Regions from separate parts of the Homo sapiens genome. Here region 2 is linked to region 1. The links are contacts of gene promoters, found by promoter capture Hi-C in blood cells and fetal thymus (Javierre and others, 2016). All regions are on one chromosome and are shown on one strand. Each heading gives the region's core, a stretch centred on a gene start or on the middle of the fragment in contact. The rest is flanking DNA. Distances are from core to core; before and after follow the strand shown.

Region 1 (4,169 bases), core at 644-3,143:
CTAGGTCCATTTGTTCAAACCACTGTTTGTCAAACTATGCCCATGGACCAAATCAGGCCAAGCACCTGTCCTTGTAGTAAAGTTTAATTGGAGGCCAAGTGCAGGCGCGGTGGCTCACACCTATAATCCCAGCACTTTGGGAGGCGAAGGCAGAGACCAGCCTCACCATGGTGAAACCCTGTCTCTACTACAAATACAAAAATTAGCTGGGCGTGGTGGCACATGCCTGTGATCCCAGCTACTCGGGAGACTGAGGAAGGAGAATCGCTTGAATCCGGAAGGCGAAGGTTGCAGTGAGCCAAGATTGCACCAGTGCACTCCAGCCTGAGTGACAGAGCAAGACTCTGTCTCAAAAAAATTAATTAATTAAAAAATAAAGTTTAATTGGAATACAGTTATGTCCATTCAATCATATGCTGATATGGCTGCTTTCCTGCTATAACTATGACCCACAAAGTCCAAAATATTTAGTGTCCGACCTTTAACAGAAAGTCTGCCAACTCCTGGCTTAAGCCATCTGCACAGTGGCTATCTGGCACCAAGCTATGCGATCGACCTTCCCAATGTTAAAAACCTTCAACAGTTTTCCCAATGTATAAGGGGCAACGTGCCTTGGCTTGGCATATTACTGGCACTCTGAATCTACCCTAAATCTGCCACACATATCTCCTGTTACGTCCCTATAAACACTGCTCTAGCCAGCCTGGTCTAACTGTTCTCTTGCACAGACACCTTGAACATTCTTCCTTTTTTACCTTTGCTCAGTCGTAGTCTTGACTGAAATTTATATCTTCCTTCAATGTAGCCTTACTACATTGTAAGTAATTAAGGAACTACTTAACTGAAACAGCAATGCTTTTGAACGCCAACAGTATTCCTCCTACTTAAAAAAGAATGCAGTAGAAAATACATGGTTATTACAGAAGATGCAAAAAATAAAATACACATAATAAAACCCCTCAAATGAAGTACTCTAAAATCATTCCAAGCCGGGCGCGGTGGCTCATGCCTGTAATCCCAGCACTTTGGGAGGCCGAGGCGGACGGATCACTTGAGGCCAGGAGTTCGAGACCACCCTGGCCAACATGATGAAACCCCGTTTCCACTAAAAAAAATTAAAATTAGCCGGGCGTGGTGACGCGCGCCTCTAATCCCAGCTACTCGGGAGGCTGAGACACGAGGAGGCGGAGGTTGCAGTGAGCCGAGATCACGCCACTGCACACCAGCCTGGGCGACAGACTGAGACTCAGTCTCAAAAATAAATAAATAAAAATTAAAATAAAATAATTACAATAGTAACCAAAATCCAATCATTCATCTAGTATAAATCAATTGCTATATGCCACGTGTGGTAGAGAACCTATATTTTATACACAAAAAATATATATGGAACATAAATAATGACAGTATATATACGGAACATACACAGACATGATAGGTATATTGTACATGACACTACCTATAATATACACATGGACCATGAACAGACAGTCTACAAGTGGAGAGGTTTACTAGAGCTGTAGACCTGAGCAAGGTTCGTGGAGAAAGTAATACACTAGTGGGGGTGTGCGAGTGGAGGGAAATTCTCTGAAAACCACGTAGAAACTGATCATGAAAGACACAGCCCAAAACTGGGACCCCGTCAGGAGATGAAAGCCCAACAAGCACCGGGGTTTCGGGCCTGCTACCCAGTAGGGCTGCCTGAGGCAGAGCGCGACGGAACCGAGCCTACAGGCCACAGCGGTACGAGACCGGCCCAATCCAACCCCGACCCCTGCAAACTTCACGCCAGCCCTCCAGAAAACTTAATTTATTAAACTCTCACCAGAAGTTTAACACTTGCGTGCAGCTTTTTAAGCTCCAGGTAACACCATCTGGCACGTACGGCGTCTAGGAAGTTCCGGGGAGGATGAACCAGTCAGGATTCCGCTCACGAGCCGTAGCTCCGCCCACCGAACGGAGCCCCGTCCATAGGCGGAAGTCCCGCCCATAGAGTGAGTTCCCACCCACCTGGCGTAGTCCCGCCCATAGAGCCAAGTCTAAGGAGCAAGGTGCAGTGAAAAAGCGAAGCCCCACCCATAGAGCGAGGTTCGGAAGTCCAGTCTCATTAGCATCCCTTGTCTTCCGCGGTGTTGCAGACTTATCCTCAGCTCAAGCGAGTTTGGGGCGTTATGGAGCCAGCCAAGTCTCCCCTTGCTGGCGTGGGTACTTGTGCAGAAACTTCCCGAGGTGCTTCTGAGACTGCACAGTGAAGACCGCCGCACCGGAGGTCAGCGCTCCGCCGCGGACTCCCGGCTGACTCTGCCACTCTCCCAGGAGGAGGCGCTGTGCACCTCTGGGTGGTTTCCAGGGCTCGGCTGGCGGTAGAGGGAGCCTTGAGGTTGGAAAAGATCTAGAGCTATAATCTCCGAAAGGAAGATTTGTAATGCACTGCGAGTTAGAAATGTTTTTCTCACTGCAGCTTCCTTGTTTCAAAAAGAGAATTTTTGACAGCACTGCAAAGGCACAAGAAACCAGGCACAGTATAAAATATACAAATAAAACAGGTACCAAGGAACTTAAAACATTCAACCCATAACGTCGTCTAGGTTTTTCTGCTTTAAGAAAATTGACTCAATTCTTCCAAGAGAATAACCCTATTAAAGGTAAGTTTTCACATGTGCCTCTATTTATTTTGTTGAGGTCATAGGAAAAGCTGGATTTCAAACAAACGTAGATGTAAGAATTAAATAGAGGAGAGAAGCACGAAGGGTGGCTTTATAGTCAACAGGGACAGGTTTATTTTAAATAAACCTGAGACTGGCAGCTGGCCAAGTTAGGTCAGAGCCACACTCTCTTACAGACTAAGAGTTTTTAAGGATTCAGGGTGGGAGAGTTTAACAGAGGCTTGGACTGCTTCTGTGTCTCTTTGCTGTGCTTATCTGGGAGGGAGAGTTGTGTGTCTGTTCCCATACATCTTTCTGCAGCTGCAGGCATACCCGCAGCTAAAAGTCTGCTTTTAGCTTCCCTATCTTAGTACACCTGAAGGGAAAGGAATGTGCTTATTAAGGCCCACTGTTTCACTGGGGCTCATTGTATGAGGGTGAGGTTTGGTAGTTAGCCAAGAGATTTTCCCCCTACTTCACTCTGCCTGAGCTGTCTTATCTGTGTTTTACTGACTGCTCTTTCTATCTGCTTGTAATTAGAAGAGAAGTGATTTCCTTGAAATTCATGAGGCTAGAAAGGGAGCTGGAACTTAAAAATGGCGGTGTTTGTCCGAGATGACGGTGCTCCTGCTCTGTCAGTAAAACTGACATTTATATGCCATTTTGTAGCTTACAAAAGATTTCAGCCTACACTATGCTCAAAATAAGGTGATAAAACCACTCCTGTTTTGCAAGTGATGATACTACTAAGGTTCAGAGTTTAAGCCGTGTGCTGGCAGCCACACAACTAACTAGAAATTGACAAAGCCAGACGGTTTTGTAAAACTAAGCATTTTTTTAAAACAGTTTTTAAAAAGGTTTTGTAAACTTGATAATTCGCAAATCCACATTGGTTAGCACTTGGTCAAGTCCTCTTTCCAACAAACCAGGCACTTGCCTGCTTACAGAAAGATAAGCAATTTTTGCAATAAATCATTTAATTATGCCCATCACAAAAAAAATTAAGGAACAGAATATACTAAGGGGAGAGGAATAATTGCTTGCCAATGTATGTTTATTCAAACTTTTGTATTCTTTCTGACGATCCACCTGTTAAAAACACCTAAAAATGCTGGTATAAAATGCCCATAAAGTGTAAGAGCAAAACAAAAACAGAAAACCGTTAGACTTTTTTATAAGGCCAGAGTTATTCACAAATACTGAGGTGAATAAGTTGGGTACAATTATTTGGTTCTTTGAATGTGAGGCTATTGATATATATATACAGAAGGCAAAGAAATAAATGTAACAGAACGACATTACAGTGTTTATGAAAACTGGTAGGTCTCACTTTTATTTTGAAGTGGCGAAATAACATGGTTATTCAGGCAAGAGCAGAGGTCTGAGTGAGGAGGCCTGGGTTTTTGGTTTACCTCTCCCACCAACCAACCGTGTGATCTTGGAAAAGTTACTTCATTTCTCTGTGCCTCCCTTTCCCATATGCATGTAGATAGTCATTATACCCACTTCAGAGAACGTTGATTA
Region 2 (4,440 bases), core at 349-2,848, 910 kb after region 1:
AAACACTACTCCTTCCCCAGTTGTTTAGTTTAAGAGATTTGAGACTGTCCCATAACCTTCATTTTCAGGATGGAGACTGAAATCCACACTTATCCATTGTCCTAGTTTTATTTTAACTTGTTTATTTTTTAACTGAAAATAAGCACGTGTGTTTAAAAAATGAAAGAGGTTTTTTACTAAAATGTATTTTGTGCTCACTACACAAGTTAGTACCTTTATAATCACTTTCCTGTATTAAATTTAATAGATTTTCACAGCAACCCTATGGAGTGGTACTAGTATTGTTGGCTTTTTAGAAATAAGACGATGGATTGAGTAAAGACTATACTTCAGAATTCATGTCACAGAGCCCAGAGGTAACCACTCAAAACTTTCATGCATATCTTTCTAAACTTTTTCCTTGTGAAAAATGTTTTTTTATATGTGCATGTGTTTATATTTAAACACAAATATAAATATGCATAGTTGGGCTTATTGTTTGTTTTAGAACAGTGAGATCATACATGTATTGTCCACAATTTGTCCTTTTAAAATGTAATCTATTATAATTTTTGCATAAATATATAAAGATATATTTTATTTAATATATTTTTAATTTATGTATTATTTACTTAATTTAATTCATTAACTTATTTGTTTTTCTGAGACAGAGTCTCACTCTGTCACCCAGGCTAGAGTGCAGGTGTGTGATCTTGGCTCACTGCAACCTCCACCTCCTGAGTTTTAGTGATTCTCCTGCCTCAGCCTCCTGAGTAGCTGGGATTACAGGCATGCACCATCATGACCAGCTAATTTCTGTATTTTTATAGAGACTGGGTTTTGCCATGTTGGCAAGGCTGGTCTCGAACTCCTGACCTCAAGTGAGCCACCTGCCTCAGCCTCCCAAAGTGCTGGGATTATAGGCGTGAACTACCGTGCTCAGCCTATATATATATATATATATATATATATCTTTTTGTATATAGTATAAAGTTCAGGTGTACATGTGCAGGATGTGCAGGTTTGTTACTTAAGTAAACGTGTGCCTTGGTGGTTTGCTGCACAGATCATCCCATCACCTAGGTATTAAGCCCAGCATCCGTTGGCTACTCTTCCTGATGCTCTCCCTCTCCCACTCCCCTATAGTTATTTATTATCTGTAAATAACTATGTTTGAAATGAACATGTAAAACGACTTACTCAAAAGCACACAGCTCTACAGTGGCAGAATTAGTACTGGAATCCAAGCCTTATGTCACACTAAATATGTATTAAATATTTGTGAATGAATGAGCTAACTAGTCCTTATGTTCATCACTGCTACTGCCAATGTATATAGAAAATTTATTTCACCCCAGGATAAATATAAATACAGAAATTTAGAAAGAAAAAAGATATCACCTCTAGCTGGAGACAATTGAAAAGCTTCATGAAAAATATGATACTAGAATATGGCCTTAAAGGATTGGTAAGGAAGGGAAATTTTATACCTCTGGAGAAGGGTAGGAACCAAGACATTAATGTAGAAAAGGACAAGTTAAGTTTGAAGAATTTTTAATCTAAACAGTTGGGTTAGACCAAGATTGTAGAGAATCTTAAATACTGAAGAGGTTTCTTAAAATTCCAGAGCAACCAAGGGCTTGGGAAATGCAAAGTTATCAGCATTCTTGTTCTAAAATATGCTATTATGGCAATGCTGACTTGTAAGTAACTTTTCAGTATTTTATTTTGCTTCAAGGAAAAACAAGTGTGACAGCAAAATTGTTTGCTTTTTCAAATTATTTTAATTTTCACTTCCTCTATTTAAAAAAGGGAAGCTTCAGAGAAGGAAGAAATGTTACCAAAAATGTGAAATTTTAAGAGAGAGAAGAATGTTTATGGGGATATTCTAAATTCAGCTGACTAGGAAATCACGCGATATGACAGGGTTTCCCCATGTAAGCATATGTGGTTAGTGCTGGATTGAACAAATCCACAGTATAACAAAAAATGTTTACCAATGTAATCAAGGAAAACTTTCATTTGAAAATTCATACATTGAAAAAGTGTGAAATATATTTGGTGTACTTTTATAAATTATTTAATTCCTCAATGAAACTCGTAAATGAAAGGTGCCTTTCACACACACACACCGATCCTTTCCATGAACAATGACCCCTGAAATGCTTTTTTTTTTTTAATTGAGACAGGGTCTTATTCTGTCACCCAGGCTGCAGTGCAGTGGTGTGATCATGGCTCACTGCAACCTCAGCCTCCTGAGTAGCTGGAACTACAAGCAGTCACCACCACACCCAGCTAATTTCTGTCTTTTTTGTAGAGAGGCACCTTTGCCATGTTGCCCAGGCTGGTCTCAAACTCCTGAGCTCAAGCGATCCGCCTGCCTTGGCTTCCCAAAGTGCTAAGATTACAGGAATGAGCCACAGCTCCCAGCCTGAACATGCATTATATGTCCCTATCCTTGTACATTCTGTATGTATAATTGTTACCTAGCCAACATCTCACATAGTTCTCTGGTCACCTAAAACAAAATGGTTGTCATTAAGAATTAGATTACATGTTGCAGATGAAGGATGTGGATCTGGCCTCCTAGGTAGAAAGGAAACCTGTAGCAATCAAGGCCTGATAAAAGGATGTGGCTTTCTGGGCCAGGCACAGTGGCTCATGCCTGTAATCTCAGCACTTTGGAAGGCCATGGTGGAAAGATCACTTGAGCCCAGCAATTAGAGGTTGTGGTGAGCTATGATTGCGCCACTTGGGTTTGGATGACAAAGACCCTGTCTCTAAAAAAATAAAATAAAGCTGGGCAGTGGCTCATGCCTGTAATCCCAGCTCTTTGGGAGGCTGAGGCGGGCAGAGACCAGCCTGGCCAACATGGTGAAACCCTCATCTCTACGAAAAATACAAAAAATTAGCCGGGCATGGTGGTGGGTGCCTGTAATCCCAGCTACTCAGGAGGCTGAGGCAGGAGAATCACTTGAACCTGGGAGGTGGAGGTTGCAGTGAGCCAAGATCACATCATTGCACTCCGGCCTGGGCAACAAGAGTGAAACTCCATCTCAAAATAAATAAATAAACAAACAAACAAACAATAAAAGGGATGTAGCTCCTGTGATCAAGCCAAATATTAGTCACAATGTGTGTACACAGTGAAGCTGTTGTCATCACCAAGTTAAATGTTCTCTCAGGCCCAAAGGACAAAGTTCAGACTGAGTATTGAGGTACCTCCATCTAGCAAAGGGGCTCAGGTCTCTTTACAGGAAAGCTGTTATCAGTTTTGACAAACAGTTGGCAAGCAATGTTTTGAGATTACTGATTACATTTCCAAAGAAGTAATATTGAACTTTTTGAAGTTCGGATAACTTAAAGGAAACATCATATAAAATAATGACCACACAAAGACAACTCTGGGGTTACAAGATACAAAACAAGATGGTAATAGGTTTTATGAAATAGGTGTAAATCAGACTTGAGGGCTAGTATCTTAACACTATTGAGTAATACGATTTATGGTCTTCTTTTTTGGTGTCCCAGCCTTCCAAATGACTGTATCACTCAGCTTCTTGTCTTCACACCACAACTGACATGATAATCTCCTATTATCTAAGAGCAATAGGTAAATTTAGAAAGAACTCTCTTAGCTAAAACTAAATCCAAAACTACAGAGATGAAGAAAGCTCAGGCTTACCTCAACTAAACTTTTCAAATGTTTTACATTAAAGATGATGTGGCTTATAATTTCCTGCAAAGTCCAGTTTACAGGAAAATATCTTCTTCTAACAGTGTATGTCCTCCTTTATCCAAGGCACTCTACGAGTGCTTTCATATGTGTTACTAAGCCTGATGCCAACCATTCAAAGTTGAATGAATATTTTCATTTCAAAACTGAAGAAACTGAACTCTTAGGGTTTTTAAGTTGCAGAGCTGGGCTTAAATCAGGTTTATCTGTTTCAAAGCCTGGGCTCCTACTGTGACAACTTCTTTATGATTTACAAACTGCTTTCCTATGTGTAATTTGATTTAGTGTGCACAGCGACCCTGTGAAGACAGTAATTGTCTACTTCTTCTCACCCTGTGATGCCAAGTTTGTTGAAAAGAATAATCTGGCCAGGCATGGTGGCTCATGCCTGTAATCCCAGCACTTTGGGAGGCTGAGGTGGGAGGACTGCCTGAGCCCAGGAGTTTGAGACCAGCCTAGGCAACACAGGGAGACCCTGTCTCTATAAAAAAGGAAAAAAATTGGCCGGGCACAGTGTTTCATGCCTGTAATCCCTGCACTTTGGGAGGCCGAGGCCTGCAGATCATCTGAGGTCAGGAATTCAAGACCAGTCTGGTCAACATGGTGAAACCCCATCTCTACCAAAATTAGCTGGATGTGGTGGTACGTGCCTATAATCCCAGCTACTCAGGAGGCTGAGGCAGGAGAATTGCTTGAACCCAGGAGGCAGAGGTTGCAGTGAGCCG

The links. The method cuts DNA at HindIII sites, captures the fragments that hold promoters and counts their contacts. A CHiCAGO score of 5 or more calls a contact.
Region 2: a contact is called between a fragment that was not itself captured here and the fragment with the promoter of RBIS in region 1, in 1 of 17 cell types (monocytes). The highest score is 6.0, in monocytes.

The regions. Positions count from the first base shown.
Region 1 is chr8:85,218,481-85,222,649 of GRCh38, forward strand. It overlaps RBIS (ribosomal biogenesis factor), which reads right to left and starts at 1,894. Exons shown (of 4, transcript NM_001099673.3): 1 at 1,826-1,894. It overlaps LOC124901969 (a long non-coding RNA gene), which reads left to right and starts at 2,067. Exons shown (of 4, transcript XR_007060985.1): 1 at 2,067-2,645. LOC105375936 (a long non-coding RNA gene) reads right to left here. Exons shown (of 3, transcript XR_929126.3): 3 at 3,947-4,169. RefSeq lists enhancers at 1,370-2,141, 1,751-1,880, 2,191-2,430, 2,914-3,683. The HindIII fragment of the contact is 10,198 bases long and covers 1-4,169 here.
Region 2 is chr8:86,125,313-86,129,752 of GRCh38, forward strand. All of the region lies in intron 2 of ATP6V0D2 (ATPase H+ transporting V0 subunit d2), which reads left to right. Among named protein-coding and RNA genes, the nearest start is that of ATP6V0D2, 29 kb to the left of the region's middle. The HindIII fragment of the contact is 392 bases long and covers 1,403-1,794 here.